6 separate regions of the Homo sapiens genome follow, and regions 1, 2, 3, 5 and 6 are each linked to region 4. The links are contacts of gene promoters, found by promoter capture Hi-C in blood cells and fetal thymus (Javierre and others, 2016). All regions are on one chromosome and are shown on one strand. The core of a region is centred on a gene start or on the middle of the fragment in contact, and the rest is flanking DNA. Distances in the headings are between cores, read along the strand shown. Region 1 has its middle 62 kb from the start of CHD1L. Region 2 has its middle 92 kb from the start of CHD1L. Region 3 overlaps LINC00624 (long intergenic non-protein coding RNA 624). Region 4 holds the start of GJA5 (gap junction protein alpha 5). Region 5 overlaps LINC00624 (long intergenic non-protein coding RNA 624). Region 6 overlaps LINC00624 (long intergenic non-protein coding RNA 624).

Region 1 (2,700 bases), core at 169-2,668, 460 kb before region 4:
CCACTTTAGGAACTTAGTGTAGCTCAGAATCTTTTTATTATTCACACACATTTGAATAAATTCTCGGCTAAATATAAAATTTGTTTCAAAGTAATTTTCCAGCAATCCTGAGCAAAAAGAACAAAACTGGAGACATCACATAACCTGACTTCAAAATATGTTACAAAGCTATAGTAACCAAAACATCATGGTATTAGTATAAAAATAAACACATAGACCAATGGAACAGAATAGAGGATCCAGAAATAAAGCCATGTATTTGCAGCCAGCTGATCTTCAACAAAGCCAACAAGATCTTACACTGGGGAAAAAAGACTATCTTCAACAAATAGTGCTGGGAAAATTGGATGGCCACATGCAGAAGAATGAAACTGGACCCCTTACCTCTCACCATACACCAAGTAAATTCAAAGTGCATTAAAGACTTTAAATATAAGACCCAAAACTATAAAAATACTAGAAGCAAATCTAGGGAAAACTCTCTTGGATATTGTTCTAGGCAAAGAATGTATGACTTAAGACCTCAAAAGCACAGGGAACAAAACCAAAAACAGAAAAATGGGACTTAATTAAACTAAAAAGCTTCTCTACAGCAGAATAAATGAGTGAAGAGACAACCTATTAAATGGGAGAAAATATTTGCAAGCCATTCATTTGACAGGTGACTAATATCCAGAATACACAAGGAACTCAAACAACTCAACAGTTAACAACAAAAGAATAAAAAAGTGGACAAAGGACATAATAGACAACTCTCAAAAGAAGACATACAAATGGCCAAGAGGTAAAAGAAAAATGCTTAACACCACTAATCATCAGGTAAATGCAAATCAAAACCACAATGAGATAATATCTTACCCTAGTCAGAATGGCTACCATTAAAAAGACAAAAAAAAATGCTGGCAAGAATGCAGAGAAAAGGGAACTCTTATTCACTGTGGGTGGGAATGTAAACTAGTACAACCACTATGGAAAACAGCATGGAGATTTCTCAAAAAACTCAAATAGAATTACCATTTAATCTAGCAGTCCCACCACTAGGTATCTACTAAAGGAAAATGAAGCAATATATCAAAGGAAAACCTGCATTCACTTGTTTATTACAGCAGTATTCATAGTAAGGCTTGTGCCTCTCTGGGATGAAGCTTTGAGAGAAAGAAACAGGTAGCAATATTTGCTGTTCTGCAGGCTCTGCAGGCTCTGCAGACCCAGGCAAACAGGGTCTGGAGTGGACCTCCAGCAAACTCCAGCAGACCTGCAGAAGAGGGGCCTGACTGTTAGAAGGAAAACTAATAGAAAGCAATAATATCAACATCAACAAAAAGGATGTCCATGCAAAAACCCCATCCAAAGGTCCTCAGCATCAAACATCAAAGGTACATAAATCCATGAAGATAAGGAAAAACCAGTGCAGAAATGCTGAAAATTCCAAAAACCACAATGCCTCTTCTCTTTGAAAGGATCACAACTCCTCACCAGCAAGGGACCAAAACTGGATGGAGAATGAGTTTGATGAATTGACAGAAGTAGGCTTCAGAAGGTGGGTAATAACACTCCTCTGAGCTAAAGGAGCATGTTCTAACCCAATGCAAGGAAGCTAAGAAACCTTGATAAAAGGTTATAGGAAATGCTAACGAGAATAACCGGTTTAGAAAAGAACATGAATGACCCAATGAAACTGAAAAACACAGCATGAGAATTTCATGAAGCATACACAAGTATCAGTAGCCAAATTGGTCAAGCGGAAGAAAGGATATCAGAGATTGAAGATCAACTTAGTGAAATAAAGCGTGAAAACAAGATTAGAGAAAAAATGAAAAGGAATGAACAAAGCCTCCCAAGACATATGAGACTATGTGAAAAGACCAAACCTACGATTGATTGGTGTACCTGAAAGTGATGGAGAATGGAACCAAGTTGGAAAACACACTTCAGGATATTATCCAGGAGAACTTCCCCAAATTAGTGAGACAGGGCAACATTCAAATTCAGGAAATACAGACAACACCACTAAGATACTCCTTGAGAAGAGCAACCCCAAGACACATAATTGTGAGATTCACCAAGACTGAAATGAAGGAAATAATGTTAAGGGCAGCCAGAGAGAAAGGTCAGGTTACCCATAAAGGGAAGCCCATCAGACTTAACAGTGGATCTCTCTGCGGAAACGCCACAAGCCAGAAGAGAGTGGGGGCCAATATTCAACATTCTTAAAGAAAATAACTTTCAACCCAGAATTTTATATCGAGACAAACTAAGCTTGATCAGTGAAGGAGAAATAAAATCCTTTCCAGACAAGCAAATGCTGAGGGATTTTGTCACCACCAGTCCTGCCTTACAGGAATTCCTGAAGGAAGCACTAAATATGGAAAGGAAAAAATCAGTACCAGCTACTGCAAAAACATGCCAAAATATAAAGACCAATAACACTATGAAGAAACTGCATCAACTAATGTGCAAAATAACCAGCTAACATCATGACAACAGGATCAGATTCACACATAACAATATTAACAATAAACGTAAATGGGCTAAATGCCCCAATTGAAAGACGCAGACTGGCAAATTGGATAGAGTCAAGACCCATCGGTGTGCTGTATTCAGGAGACCCATTTCATATGCAAAGACACACATGGGCTCAAAATAAAGGGATGAAGGAATATTTACCAAGCAAATGGAAAGCAAAAGAAGCAGGGTTTG
Region 2 (2,700 bases), core at 112-2,611, 430 kb before region 4:
ATCACTTTAAGTGAGAATGGTCTAAATGTACCAATTAAAAGATTGTCAGAGTGGCTAAAAAACAAGATTCGACTATTGTATTTGAATACAGATGTGATTCCCAGTCTATTTTCAGGCAAGTTCTCACCACTGTTTGTTATTTGGTTTCCTGTCATTAAAAAAAGTTGACTAACTTCCCTACTAACTGGCATATTCAGACAGTAAAGAGCTTAAAGGAGAGGGGCTTTGAGCAGAATGGTGGCATCCTGATATAAGAGAGTAAGAGCAGGGAGCTAGGAGATGCATGAAACTGCAGCAAAGTAACCTCAGCCTCTGAATTCAAGTGCCCTTCAAGGAACTGAACTCATTTAACCATACTATCATATTTGGGAAGCAGGGATTATTACTTCCATTTCACATTTTGTGAAAACTGTTAAGTATCTTCTGTGTACTCCAGACAAGACATCCAGGCTCCAGGCCTCTCTTACATGGTCCAGCACTTATTTCATGGAATCCTCTCTACTTTGCCCTTCTGTATTCGCTAGTGCCCACTCCCTTGTCCTCTGCCAATTCCATCGTGGTTCTATAGGAAAATGGGATGTCTGTCATTCTCTGCAGCTGTGAACTTTGCATATTTCTTTGGCTTTAAAATATCTGGCCTGTAGTGATAAGGATTCAGCAAGCCACTGAAAAGCAATGGCACTTAAGAAAATCTCCGGCAACTCTGTCTTTTCCTCTTGCTTTCTCGGTCCTGCTCAAAGTTGTCTTGTTGGCAGGCAGCCACCTGTGAAATGTGCACATTTCAAAGCAAATGGCTCCAGGAGCTCATAATTGCTGCCAAACGTGTGTGGATTTTAATAGCCCATTTTCATTAGCCTTGTGTGAAATCACCTGTCTCTGTGTTGTTACCCAACTTAATTGTCAATTATGGTGATTAAGCTTGGCTTTCACTACCATCACTGGTAATCATTAGTATTATCTCTGAGGCTGAACGAAGGGAAAAAAATCATGCCAGAAAAAAATATCATTTTGTAGGTGAAGGTGAATATTTTGGTGTCAATGCATGAGGAGAATGGCATTTTTTTTTAATTTGGGCTGAACCAAACTTGAGTCTACCTGTTATTTCCAACCTGCCTTTTAGATGTGTTAGGACAAACGCTTCTCTTTTGTCACTTGGTTTTCTCTCACCAAAGAAGTGTTCCTGATGCCTATCCCTTTGCAATTCTCCTGAGATGAGCATAGGTAATTAAGACAGTAAGTTAGATAATTAATGCCTTTAAAATGCTTTCAGCAATGTCGGTGATTCCAAGTGTAATAGGTGGAGCCCTAGAAAAACTTGGGAGATAGCACAGAAAGTGCTGCCAATGTACAACTTGAGATTTTGATTGATGTTCTTTCTGCTTTCATCAGTCTCGTTAAATTTTAAGCACCTTACCTTGCCTTCTTGACTACAGGGTCATCTAATTTTGCATCTTGACTAATATTTTACTTTTTCGTGGAATTTGCAATGAACAATAATGAAAATCAACGACATTATCATTATCATCCTTTTCCTCCTTCTTTACAAATTTTAATTTAGTAAAATCCCAAACTCATTTCTGTTATGCTTTTATGGGATTTCAGGACATGGCAAAATAATGAAAGACATTTTTGAAAATGGTATCATTAGACATCATCTCTAGTATTTGAGTGCCATGTGTGTCCCCAAGGTTTATGACACTCTTAAGACTTGACAGTTTCCTTTATCTTTCCAAAACCCTTGGAGGAAACTAATAAGAGTTTTTTTTTAATTCTAACTTAATGGGAAGAAAGAAATTAAGTCATGCAAGCTTAAGGGATATGAAGTGTGAATCAGTGACTGTTGCCTTCTGGGGTAGAGGAGGAATGAGGCTCTATTCCAGATAGTCCTTAATGAAAACACCTAAAATCCATAACCTAGCAAAGATCCTCTGGCAAGTCTGGACTGAGGCTGGCAAGAGTTACAAATGAATTAGCTGGACAGTTTCCCTCTCTTCCCACTTTCCCATTCCCATTTAGTGTTCTTTACAGTGTTTTGTTTTTAAAGGCCTGATTATAACAAATGCTGTCTTCATCACTTGGTTTCCAAAACCCCTGTACTCAAGATTACAGAGTGTCCTCAGAAGCTTCATGGTTGCTCACCCGTGAAGAGTGGAGGACTGGAATCCAAACTCTTATGGTGCTTTTGTAATTTCTGTAAATATATATTTTTCTTGTAATTAAAAAATGTATTTTTTTAATTTCCCAAAAAGAATATAATTTATCATTTAGGAATAGAGGAGGAAGACAAATTACAGCTGAAACATTTTCTCTTTTATGAAGCTTTAACCAACTCTTCCTCTTCCAAGTCCCTAGGACAAAATAAATTGCCCTTTTTCCTGTGTTTCCCCTTTTTCCTGTGTTCTTTATTCTTGTGTGGATTTTAGAGTGACCACATTTTATTATAGTTATTTGTTGTATAATCCCACATTTTTATCCTTAAATTTTGGTCAAGAGAGGTCTTCTTTTTCAGCTGCTGTGTAATTAAGTTTAAGGGTGACGAAGGAAAGAGAAAATTCAAACAGCCAAGAACTGTGAAGGATGAGCCTTTTAAAGGAGAGCTTACTGCCTTATGGTGAACTGATTCAAATGCTTTGGTAACGTGGACATGCTGTTAAGGGCTGAGTGGTTTCTTTATCAAACAGCATTCTGCAAATTCATGGA
Region 3 (2,700 bases), core at 1-2,500, 310 kb before region 4:
GACAACAAATCCAGTACCAAATTCCATTCAGAGTGTCTCCAAAGAGCTAAAAAGCTGACCTCTTCATTGCATGCTGGGAAAAGATGACTGCCATGACCTTAATGATTCCAAGAGAGAACTAATTGCTCTTCATTTCTACACTTTCTAATCAAGCTGCTGCCCTTGAGTTGTGTTTGTACTTGGAGGAGTCCCAGAACATCTACTTAGAGAGAGATTAGATGGATAGTCCCCAAAGGACAGTCCACAGGCACTTATACATGGCCATCCTAGAAGAAGGAATCATAGAGTGATCAAAGAGGATTTTTGGTTCCTGTGTTAGGCAATGACTACGCTGCAGGCAGCTCCTGGAGTGGCAGGTCCCCCTCATGATGCATGGAGTTCAATAGCCAGTTGTACCAAAGAGTATTCTTTCCATAGTAGTGTGGGGAGTACAAGCCCCACCCCCAAAGCCAGAAATCCAAGCCTTTCAGTGAGACTCAGTGGTACGTAGGTTATTTATCATCACAATTGAGAAAAACTGCCCAATGTCAGGATATACCTACCGCTTAATAACATACTGTATATTGTGCATATTTTTATTACCATTTTGGTAACATTTATGTAATGACGTATTTTTAACATCTTTTCTGTGTGTATAAATTTCAACAGTACAACTTATAGAATTAGAGTAGAACTTACTTTAGAAATTATCCACTCCAGAACCTAAGGAATGCCTGAGTTATTTAAGTGAGATAATATAAGTGAAAAAATTTTTATGACATAATACAAAATGCAAAGTATTAGTATTCTATTTTTGACAAGCAGGACAGAAAGGAATAATTTTTTGGGAGAAAGCATAGGGATATATTTCCACTATTACACATTACAGTACAACAATAGGTGCAGACAAAATAATTGTTTAAAGAAATTTGATTAAATTCATACAAAACATATATTTGGAAACATTTATTCGCTAACCAGGGGTTCTCATCTTTATGTGGCAACACATTGATGTTTGGGAGAGGTGTGTTGCAAGCAATTTATTGACTATAATAAAGGCTTGAAGCTTGCGAATGATTTACTTTACCTGTGATTCTTTTTATTATAAATATACATTTAAAGTTATTTGTAAATAATTTCATCCCCAATCATTTGCCTTAGAGATTACTGATTGGGAAAGAAAGAAGCAGGATTGCTGCTCTCTGGCTGGGAACTGAGCAGAACGTGCCACATGGTCTCCATTGGGACCATTGCTCTTACAGGGCCATGGCGCCACATTTATGCCCCAACAGGCTGTTCTTTTCCTCAGGTGTCTAAGATGTTTGCACCAGAACGGTTGAACAGAAATGTCCTCCAGAGGTCAGCTGAGATGTCCCTTCTTAACCTTTCTCTGTAGGTCTGACTAAACTGCTGGATTTTATATCTTTCCTGTTCCCCTGACTTCCACCTGAGTTGTTCGTGAACAGTCTTTGAGCCCCAAGCTTTGGGTCCCCGTTCAGCTTGGATGCCACTGGGAGTATCAGGCTCTGTGATACCAGGGTCAAGGACCTAAGGCACCTCATAGGTAGGGCATTGCAGGCCAGTCTTTCTCCACTCTGACATATGTGTTCATGAGAGGGGGCTCAGAATTTGCCAGTGGCTCTATGCTACCTCTGGCATAGGCTTGGGAGGAGTGCAATTTTCTGTGAGATCTCCATAGAGTTACCCTCTTGTCAAAGTTAACACAGGTTAAAAAATGCAAATCTATGTCATGTTTCAGGCAGACACAGATATTGAGAAATATGTGCCCAATAAATACTATATGGTCTCATCATGAGACTGATAGGGTAAATATAATTGGTAGAAAAATAAGTCAATAATTTCATCCTTTTTTAATTCCAAGAAATTCATTTGATCAGTGTTAGCATTAACTTTAGTTTTGACTTGTTTTGTTTCGTTGTTGCTGCTGATTGAACCAATTCTCAGGAGATTGAAAAGAGGTAGGTATTTTTCTTATTTGGACCTTTCTCTCTCTCTTTATTTTATGGAACTATGGAATGCAGAACAGGGAATTGGAAAGAGTATGGCCTTTAGAGTCAGATGGACATGGGTTAAATCCCAGTCCCTAATATAGTAGCCAGGTAACTTGAAGCATCAGTTTCCCTACCATCAGAGTGAACAGGCAACCTACAGAAGGGGAGAAAATTTTTGCAATCTACCCATCTGACAAAGGGCTAATATCCAGAATCTACAAGGAACTGAAACAAATTTACAAGAAAAAAATCAAACAACCCCATCAAAAACTGGGTGAAGAATATGAACAGACACTTCTCAAAAGAAGACATTTACGCAGCCAACAGACACATGAAAAAATGCTCATCATCACTGGCCGTCAGAGAAATGCAAATCAAAACCACAGTGAGATACCATCTCACACCAGTTAGAATGGCCATCATTAAAAAGTCAGGAAACAACAGGTGCTGGAGAGGATGTGGAGAAATAGGAACACTTTTACACTGTTGGTGGGACTGTAAACTAGTTCAACCATTGTGAAAGACAGTGTGGTGATTCCTCAAGGATCTAGAACTAAAAATAACATTTGACCCAGCCATCCATTACTGAGTATATACCCAAAGGATTATAAATCTTGCTGCTATAAAGACACAGGCACACGTATGTTTACTGTGGCACTATTCACAATAGCAAAGACTTGGAACCAACCCAAATGTCCATCAATGATAG
Region 4 (2,775 bases), core at 165-2,664:
GTGCTTGTGTACTTCCTCCAGGAAATTTCCCAGGAAGCTCCAATCGCCCATCTTGGCACAGCCAGGGAACAGATGCCAAAACTTCTGCAAATGGGAGAGAGAGAAAGAGAGAAAAGAAGAAGGATGTTCTGTGAAGGTCTGGAATGTCTATCATGTTCTGGGATTCCACTGATCCATCCATCCAATGGGTTCTTTAAGAAAATGCAACTTAGAAGTCAAAGCAACCAACGAAAAGCTCGCTCTCCTTTCCCAGCAAAAATAAAAAGAAAGAGAAGATTCAAAGTAGCCATATTAGCAAAATTAGAGCATGGCTCCCACACTTTAACGGATCTAGAAATCGTGGTGTGTGTTACAATATGGATTCTGCTCTTGCCCCAGTAATTCTACTTCAGGAGGTCTGGGATGGCCCCCAGGAATCTGGATTTACAACAAGCAGCCCAAGTAATTCTGATGCAGGCGGTGAGGGACCGCACCTGGAGAAACACGAGTATTAAAAAGAACACAAGACTGGGGTCTGCAAATGTGACTCTGGGCATTTACCTCACTGAGTCTGTTTCTTCATTTATCGAATGGGGATGGGAATAGCTACACCAGAGAATTCTGAGGATTAAATGATATGAGGTGTGTGATATTCTGAAAATCATTCCACAACTGTTCCAAATGTTTAAATGGCTGTTGGATGGAAAAGGAATTTTTTTATGGCTCCAGAGGGCAGAACTAGGTGGAGGAGGAAAGAGTGAGGATGGGATTGGCAAATTTGGCCCCTCAGGAAGCACTCTGCAAAAATCAGAACCATCCAGCATGGACCAGCTGTGTTGGGAGGTGGCAAACAAAAAGTGTGCTTTGGTCACACCAGCTAACAGTATCACAGATGAGTGCTCACTTCCCCTGGCTGGTAAGGCAATGTTGATCTCCCATGCCTCGGTGCAACACAGCCATTCCAGCCACACAGCTCAGCTCGCCCTGCTGCTAAGTTTCTGTGTCTCATTTAAATAAGGTTCCCACACACAGATCTGCCCACCCTTATGTCCAGAATAAATGTCCCAAAACTTTATGTCCCTTACAAAATCCTCCCTCATCTGGCCTTTGTCTGCTTTTCCAGCCTGTTCCTGCCTGTCCACATGAGTTCCTTTTGTCCAGCCATGCCAAGTCTTCCCAAATGCCCTCCTTCTGTACCCCTACATGTCCCCTCACCCCTAGCTGAATCCCATTTACCTTTCAAAACTTAACCCAGTCATTGCCTCCTCCAGCCCTCCCTCCTCCCTCAAGCTGAGCCTCTTCAGCTCCTGTGATGGCCCCCGGGACACTTACTCGTCTCCCAGTGCTTGCTGCCTTGTGTTGTAATCCTCTGCCTGTCTGTGTTCTCCCAGGAGGGACTGTTTGAAAATGGAGACTGTCTTTTCTTCTGTATCACCAGAGCCTGGCCCAGAGTAGGTGTTTAATATATCTTAGTTGAGTGAATGAAGGAGGGGCTGACAGGCACTGTTGTTTCCTACCCAATAGAAAACCAATTCCCTGTTTCTTGCCTGCCTCCCATTGGCAGGGTGAAAAAGCCAGGTATCACTTTCTTAATCTCCTCTGCAGTTAGTTCTGGTAGGTGAGGTATGGGGAGAATCTAAAGTAGAGGGAATGCTCCAGAAAAGGTTTTTCTACCCCCCAGTAAATGGAGAGAGCCTCACTCACAGTGCTCCCATCCCCCTGTGAACAAGAGGGAACCTCACTCACAGTGCTCCCATCCCCTGGTGAACAGGAGGGAGACTACTCACAGTGCTCCCATCCCCCGGTGAATAGGAGTGAGCCTCACTTAGCCCCACCGCTTCCTGCCTGTGGACAGAGTTGTATGAACCAAGATGTCTAAAGCTGTCCAGAGAATCTCAGAAATGTCAACCAGTGCCCTGAGGCCTCTGAAGCAACTCTTGAGGCTCCCTACCTCCAGAATTCTTACTTAGTGAATAACGAATGTTCTTACAGTTTAAGCCTCTAACCATTCCTAACCAACAGGATGACAAACGTCTCGGAGGGAATGGAGCATAAATATTCCTTTCTTAGAATCATAAACCTCAGATTTGGGTGGGTCCTTAGAGGTTTGTCAAATTCAAACTTTGACCGTCATATCTTTGCTGCCAACGTGCTCCTGGTTTCTGTCTGAACATTCTTCATGCTTATGGGGAAAGATGGGGTCAGGGTGGTGCATTTCATAGTCCAGGCTTCCTCAGCTCTTGAGTTGATTGTTGCCTTGACAGGGACCAACCTCCTGGCCCTGTATTCTCTCAGACCCCAGGTCCCCAAACTTGAGAGTATACAGTGTCCCTGGGAATGAGGGAGTTCCTGAGTGAGCGGAAAGCATCTTATCTCTGCTCCTCTCTATATCAAAGACCCATGCAGGTCTTGAGGCCTTTCCTGTCATTTGTGATCAGACATCTGCCCCATTTCCTTAGGTGGCGAAGCGCCCCCTCTTTCAGCCTCCAAATGTGGAAAATTGTGGAGCATGTGCTCAAAAGGAAAATGGCTGATTAGATAAGAGTTTGAATTGTCTGTCCTCTCTTCTGGGCACATGTACAGTGTTCAGCACCTTCAGGGTCAGCCACACACGTGCAGTGACTGAACTATGGTAAATGTCTGAGAAAAAGAGGGAGGGAGAGAAGGGGAGGAATAAAAAGAAGAGAAGAAAAGGGAAGGACAAGGGAGAGTTGGAAATGGAGAAAAAGACCATGTAGGGTTAAGAAAAGACAGATGCAGGAGTTAGCTTACTGAGGTTTGACAAATTTCTATTAC
Region 5 (2,709 bases), core at 204-2,703, 350 kb before region 4:
AGCCTTCTGGATCTCCAGGAATATGTCAGAGCTTTACAAAGTCCTCTGTTATCATATGACTTGTTCCCCAAGTCATCCTTTTAGATTTTTGGCCAGGCTCTTTTTTGTTATGGGCTGAATTGTGTTCCCCTCAAAATGGTGAAGTCCTCACCCCCACTGTCTTAGAACATGGCTGTTTTTGGAAACAGGGTTTTAAAAAAGGTAATTAAGTTAAAATGAAGTCATTAGAGTGAATTCTAATCCAATGTGACTGGTAATCTTACAGGAAAATGAAATTTGTACACAGATATGCACACAGGGAGGACAATGTGAAGACGGACAGAATGGCCATGTACAAGTCAAGGAGAAATATTATAAAAATATTGACAGTGCTCTGAGGATGGGGGTTTTCACAAAGCTCAAAACAGGTCAAACTTCTTCACTGGCTGCCAGCTCTTCACAGCTACCACCCTGGTACTAGGGGTTGGGTACGTGGGAATAGTTCCAAGTTAAAGCACCATAGACCCCACTGTTCTTATGAAGCTCGGCAGTTATATTTGAGTGAATGCTTTTCAGTGTGTTCTGTGCCTTTGGTTAATTTTCATAGTTTTAAAATGGTTGGTTTCTATTGGTGTTTTGCCAGTATTTTTGTTGCTTTTGTGGGAAGAGGATTCACTGAGGTCCTCACCCTGACATTCTGAAAGTGTTGTCCCTAACCTTGTTTTTGAAATATATTTATGTTGGTTAGACTTTTAGGTTGACAAGTTTGTTTCCTTTCAAGCTGTTGCTCCTTAAAACATTGGAAGGAAACAAATAAACAATACAGTCTTTTGGCTTGCATTGCTTGGATGAGAAGTCAGCTGTCATTCTCATCTCTATTCTTCTGCATGTAATGTGCGTTTTTTCCTAGTTGCTTTTAAAATTTTCTATCACTAGTTTTGACCAATTTGATTATGATTTGCATGGTGTAGTTTTCTTTCTGTGCCTTGTTTGGGGTTTGTTAAGCTTCTTGAATTTGGGGGCTTAAAAATTTCATAAAATTGGAAATTTTGGCTACTGTTTTTCCACATTTTTTGTTCCCTTCTCTTTCTTGGGCTCCAATGCATATTAAGGCACTTGCTGTCCCCAAGCTCACTGATGTTCTGCTCATTTCTCTTCAGTCCCTTTTTTCTTTTATTTTTTTATTTTTTGAGACAGAATCTCACTCTGTTGTCCAGCCTGGGGTGCAATGGCGTGATCACAGCTCACTGCAGCCTTGACCTCCAGGGCTCAAGCTATCCTCCTACCTCAGCCACCCAAGTAGCTGGAACTACAGGCACAGGCACGTGGCTGGTTAATTTTCATATTTTTTTGTACAGATAAGAGTCTTTCCATGTTGCCCAGGATGGTCTCAAACTCCTAGGTTTGAGCAATCTTCCCACCTCAGCCTCTCAAAGAGCTGAGATTACAGGCATGAGCCAATGTGCCCAACCTCTTATTTCATTTTGGATATTTTCTATTAGTATGACTTCACATTCACTAACCTTTTTCTATATCTAATTTGCTGTTAATCTCATCCTGTGTATACTGTATCTCAAACATTATATTTTTACTTTAGAATTTCAATATTTTAATATCTTCAATGTCTCTCCTTGTCATATACATAATTTCCTCTACTTTCTTGAACATATAAATGTATTTATAGTAGCTATTTTAACATCATTGCTTTATAAGTCTATAATCTGTGTCATTACTGAGTCTTTTAAATTATATTTTCTTTTTAATATAGGTTGTATTCCCTTCCTGCTTCTTTGTATGCCTGAAAATTTTGGATTGACGCCAGACACTGTGAATTTTACATAGCTAAATGAAGAAGTTTTAGTATTCCTTTAAGGATTTTTGGACTTTGTTCTTGGACACAGTTAAATTACTCAGAAATAATTTGATCCTTTTAAGACTAGCTTTTAAGCTTTGTTAGGTGAGCTTAGAATAGCCTTTTGCCTAGTGTCAATTTTGCCTCTCTACTAAGGCATCTAATGAGTCTACTTTGTATGTGTTAGGATTTCTTTGCGCACTGATTGGTGCAAAGACTAACTATTCCCAGCCCTGCGTGAGCTCTCCAGATTATTCCAACTGATCCTCTCTAATCTTTTCCTTGGCTCTCATGTGCTGATTAGCATTCTGCTGAAGAGGGAATTCTGTGGATCTCTGAGACTCTCTTTTTATGTGCATCTCCTCTCCAGGGCTCTGCCACGCAAATTCTAGGTACCTTGATCTCCCCCAAACTCTGAATTTTCTCTTATTAATAAAGGGAGACTACTGGGCTCCACTTATGTACCCCCTCCTTGTGCTGTGGCCTGGACACCCTCTCCATGCAGTGAGCTGGTGCATTCATAGGGTTTACCTCATTTGTTTCCCTTGTCTCAGTACTCTCTGTCCCATTCCACTCATTGTTTAATATCTGAAAACACATTTTGTTTTATCTTTTCCCCCAAGTTTTTAGTTATTAAGACAGAAAAGCAAATCTGGTTACTTTTATTCCATTATGGAAGAAGTTCCAAAACCTGATTATTTATTTATTTATTTATTTATTTATTTATTTATTTATTTTTTTGAGAAGGTATCTCATTCTGTCACCCAGGCAGGAATGCAGTGACATGATCTTGGCTCACTGCCACCTCCGCTTCCTGGGTTCAAACAATTCTCTTGCCTCAGCCCCCCAAGTAGCTGGGATTACAGCCACATGCCACC
Region 6 (2,743 bases), core at 186-2,685, 290 kb before region 4:
GGTCCAAGAGTGTGTTTGGTATGATTTCAGTTCTTTTGCATTTGCTGAGGATTGTTCTATGTCCAAGTAAGTGGTCAATTTTAGAGTATGTGCCATGTGGCAATGAGAAGAATGTATATTCTCTTGTTTTGGGGTGGAGAGTTGTATAGAGGTCAGATCCATCTGGTCCAATGTTGAGTTCAGGTCTTGAATGTGTTTGTTAATTTTCTGCCTATTACAGTCAATACACTCAATGATCTGTCTAATACTGTCAGTGGAGTGTTGAAGTCTCCCACTGATACTGTGTTGAAGTCTATGTCTCTTCGTAGGTCTCTAAGAACTTCCTTTATGAATCCAGGTGCTCCTGTGTTGGGTGCATATGTATTTAGAATAGTTAGATCTTCTCGTTGAATTGAACCCTTTACCATTATGTAATGTCCTTGTCTTTTTTTCATCTTTGTTGATTTGAAGTCTGTTTTGCCTGAAATTAGGATTACAACCTTTAATCAAATTACAACCTTAGTAATCAAATTACAACCTTACTAAGCAAATGATTTCCTCCATCCTTCAATTTTGAGCCTATGGGTGTCATTTCGTGTGAAATGTGTCTCTTGAAGACAGCATACCATTGGGTTTTGCTTTTTTATCCAGGTTGCCACTCTGTGCCTTTTAAGTGGGGGCGGTTAGCTCATTTACATTGAAGGTTATTACTGACAGATGTGAATCTGATCCTGTCATTGTGTTGTTAGCTGGTTATTGTGTTGACTTGTTTGTGTGGTTGCTTTACAGTGACGTTGGTCTATGTGTTTAAGACTGTTTTTGTATTAGTTGGTAGCAATCTTTCCTTCCTATGTTAAATGCTCCTTTCAAAATCTCTTGTAATGCAGGTCTGGTGGTAATGAACTTTTTCAACATATGCTTATCTGAAAAGGATATTTCTCCTTTGCTTAGGAAGCTTAGTTTGGCTAGACATGAAATTTTTGGTTGAAGATTTTTTTCTTTAAAAATGTTGAATATAGGCTCCCCAATCTTGTCTGGCTTACAGGGCTTTAGCTGAAAGATCTACTGTTAGCCTGATAGTGTTCTCTTTGTTGGTAACTTGCCCTTTCTCTCTAGCTGCCTTTAACATTCTTTCTGGCATTTTAATCTTGGAAAATCTGACAATTATGTGTCTTCGAGATAATCTTGTATAGAGTCTTGCAGAAATTCTCTGTATTTCCTGAATCTGACTATTGGCCTCTCTAGCAAGGTTGGGGAAGTTTTCGTGAATGATATCCTGAAATGTTTTCCAAGTTATTTGCTTTCTCCCTCTCCTTTTCAGGGATGCCAATGATTTGTGTAGATCTGGCCTCTTTACGTAATCCCATACTTCTTAGAGGGTTTGTTCTTTCATTTTTATTCCTTTTTCTTTATTTTTGTCTGTCTTACTTCAGAGAACTAGTCTTCAAATTCTGAGATTCTTTCTTCAGTTTGGTTTATTCTGCTGTTAATACTTGTGACTGCATTGTGAAATTATTGCATTGTGTTGATCAGCTCTGTCAGACCTGTTAGGTTCTTTTTTATACCACCTACTTCGTCCTTCAGCTCCTATATTGCTTTATTGTGATTCTTATTTTCCTTGGATTGGGTTTCGCTGTTCTCCTGAATCTCAATGATCTTCATTCCTATCCATATTCTAAATTTTATTTGTTATCCCAGCCAGTTCTTATTGGAGAACTGGTACAGTCATTTTGAGGCCATACAAAACTCTGGTCATTTGAGTTACCAGAGTTCTTGCATTCGTTCTTTCTCATTTCTGCATATGGGTGTTCCTTTAACTGTAGTATAGATTGATTACAGTCAATAGACTTCTGGATGTTTTCACCTGGCTGAGGCCTTGTGCAGGGTCTCTATCTGAAGCTGATTTCTTGTCTCTGGTTTCACAGGGGGGTATGTTAGTGAGGCATTTTTTTAAGTTGAAGCTTTGTGGTGTGATCCAGTAGGTGGCATTTAGGCTTACGGGTCAGTTGGTAGACTCACTCAGTTGTGTAGCTCCCCTATGGTTCCCCACAGTGGCAGCTATATTTCCTCTCAATCCTCTGGGAACGTGGCTTCCTCTCCCCCTTAAGTGCTGACTGTAGATCACGGCTTGTCACTCCTGGACTGCCCACTGTAGCTCTGGGATGATCTCAGCATTTATGATTCTTCCCCATCTCAGAGGCAGCAGAGGAAGGGACCTTAGTAGTGGTTTTGACCAAGGGTCTTTTGCTTGTCTCCTGAGGGCTCCACCCGAAAGATGGAAGATGGACTGACCTCCTCTTCTTAAACTGACTGCAGCCTGTTGGAGGTATGGATAAAGCACTTAAAGCCTTTGTTCCTTCATTAGTCTGAGGGCAGCAAGGGCAGTTCTACTGCAGAGGCAGTGGCAGGGAAGCTTTCAGTTGCCCCTGGAGGCTCTGTCCAGGGAGTTGCTGAGTTGCTACTGGCTCAATAGCTCTGGCAGTGGGTGGCTGGAAGCCCTGGAGAACCTGCCCAGTGAGGAGATGTGGGAATAGGCACCCATTTGTTCTGGCCAGTTTTCCATAGGGCTGCTGTGGTATGCTGGGGTCCCTCTGCAGTTCCTAGTTGCCTTGAATTTTCCAGTAAGTGGAGATATCATCAGTAAAGGCTGCAATACAGCAAAGACAGTAGCCTGCCCCTCCCTCTGGAAGCTCCATCCCAGGAAGGTATGGGCCTGTTGCCAGCCCAAAAGTGCCTGTAGGAGGTGGCTGGAGACCCTGGTTAG

What was found. The method cuts DNA at HindIII sites, captures the fragments that hold promoters and counts their contacts. A CHiCAGO score of 5 or more calls a contact.
Region 1: a fragment that was not itself captured here is called in contact with the fragment with the promoter of GJA5 in region 4 in 5 of 17 cell types (erythroblasts, total B cells, activated CD4 T cells and 2 more); the score reaches 5.7 in erythroblasts.
Region 2: a fragment that was not itself captured here is called in contact with the fragment with the promoter of GJA5 in region 4 in 2 of 17 cell types (erythroblasts and fetal thymus); the score reaches 6.8 in erythroblasts.
Region 3: a contact is called between a fragment that was not itself captured here and the fragment with the promoter of GJA5 in region 4, in 1 of 17 cell types (fetal thymus). The highest score is 5.3, in fetal thymus.
Region 5: a contact is called between a fragment that was not itself captured here and the fragment with the promoter of GJA5 in region 4, in 2 of 17 cell types (erythroblasts and fetal thymus). The highest score is 6.8, in erythroblasts.
Region 6: a contact is called between a fragment that was not itself captured here and the fragment with the promoter of GJA5 in region 4, in 10 of 17 cell types (fetal thymus, activated CD4 T cells, total CD4 T cells and 7 more). The highest score is 8.1, in fetal thymus.

The regions. Positions count from the first base shown.
Region 1 is chr1:147,303,466-147,306,165 of GRCh38, forward strand. No RefSeq gene overlaps it. Among named protein-coding and RNA genes, the nearest start is that of CHD1L, 62 kb to the left of the region's middle. The HindIII fragment of the contact is 1,677 bases long and covers 581-2,257 here.
Region 2 is chr1:147,333,831-147,336,530 of GRCh38, forward strand. No RefSeq gene overlaps it. Among named protein-coding and RNA genes, the nearest start is that of CHD1L, 92 kb to the left of the region's middle. RefSeq lists an enhancer at 2,373-2,700. The HindIII fragment of the contact is 890 bases long and covers 917-1,806 here.
Region 3 is chr1:147,447,349-147,450,048 of GRCh38, forward strand. All of the region lies in intron 3 of LINC00624 (long intergenic non-protein coding RNA 624), which reads right to left. Among named protein-coding and RNA genes, the nearest start is that of LINC00624, 69 kb to the right of the region's middle. The HindIII fragment of the contact is 415 bases long and covers 1,044-1,458 here.
Region 4 is chr1:147,759,188-147,761,962 of GRCh38, forward strand. It overlaps GJA5 (gap junction protein alpha 5), which reads right to left and starts at 1,415. Exons shown (of 2, transcript NM_181703.4): 1 at 1,312-1,415; 2 at 1-84. The coding sequence starts at 51. The region is part of intron 1 of LOC102723321 (a long non-coding RNA gene); the gene reads left to right. The HindIII fragment of the contact is 9,872 bases long and covers 1-2,775 here.
Region 5 is chr1:147,411,337-147,414,045 of GRCh38, forward strand. The region is part of intron 3 of LINC00624 (long intergenic non-protein coding RNA 624); the gene reads right to left. Among named protein-coding and RNA genes, the nearest start is that of LINC00624, 110 kb to the right of the region's middle. The HindIII fragment of the contact is 943 bases long and covers 983-1,925 here.
Region 6 is chr1:147,466,121-147,468,863 of GRCh38, forward strand. The region is part of intron 3 of LINC00624 (long intergenic non-protein coding RNA 624); the gene reads right to left. Among named protein-coding and RNA genes, the nearest start is that of LINC00624, 50 kb to the right of the region's middle. The HindIII fragment of the contact is 1,006 bases long and covers 933-1,938 here.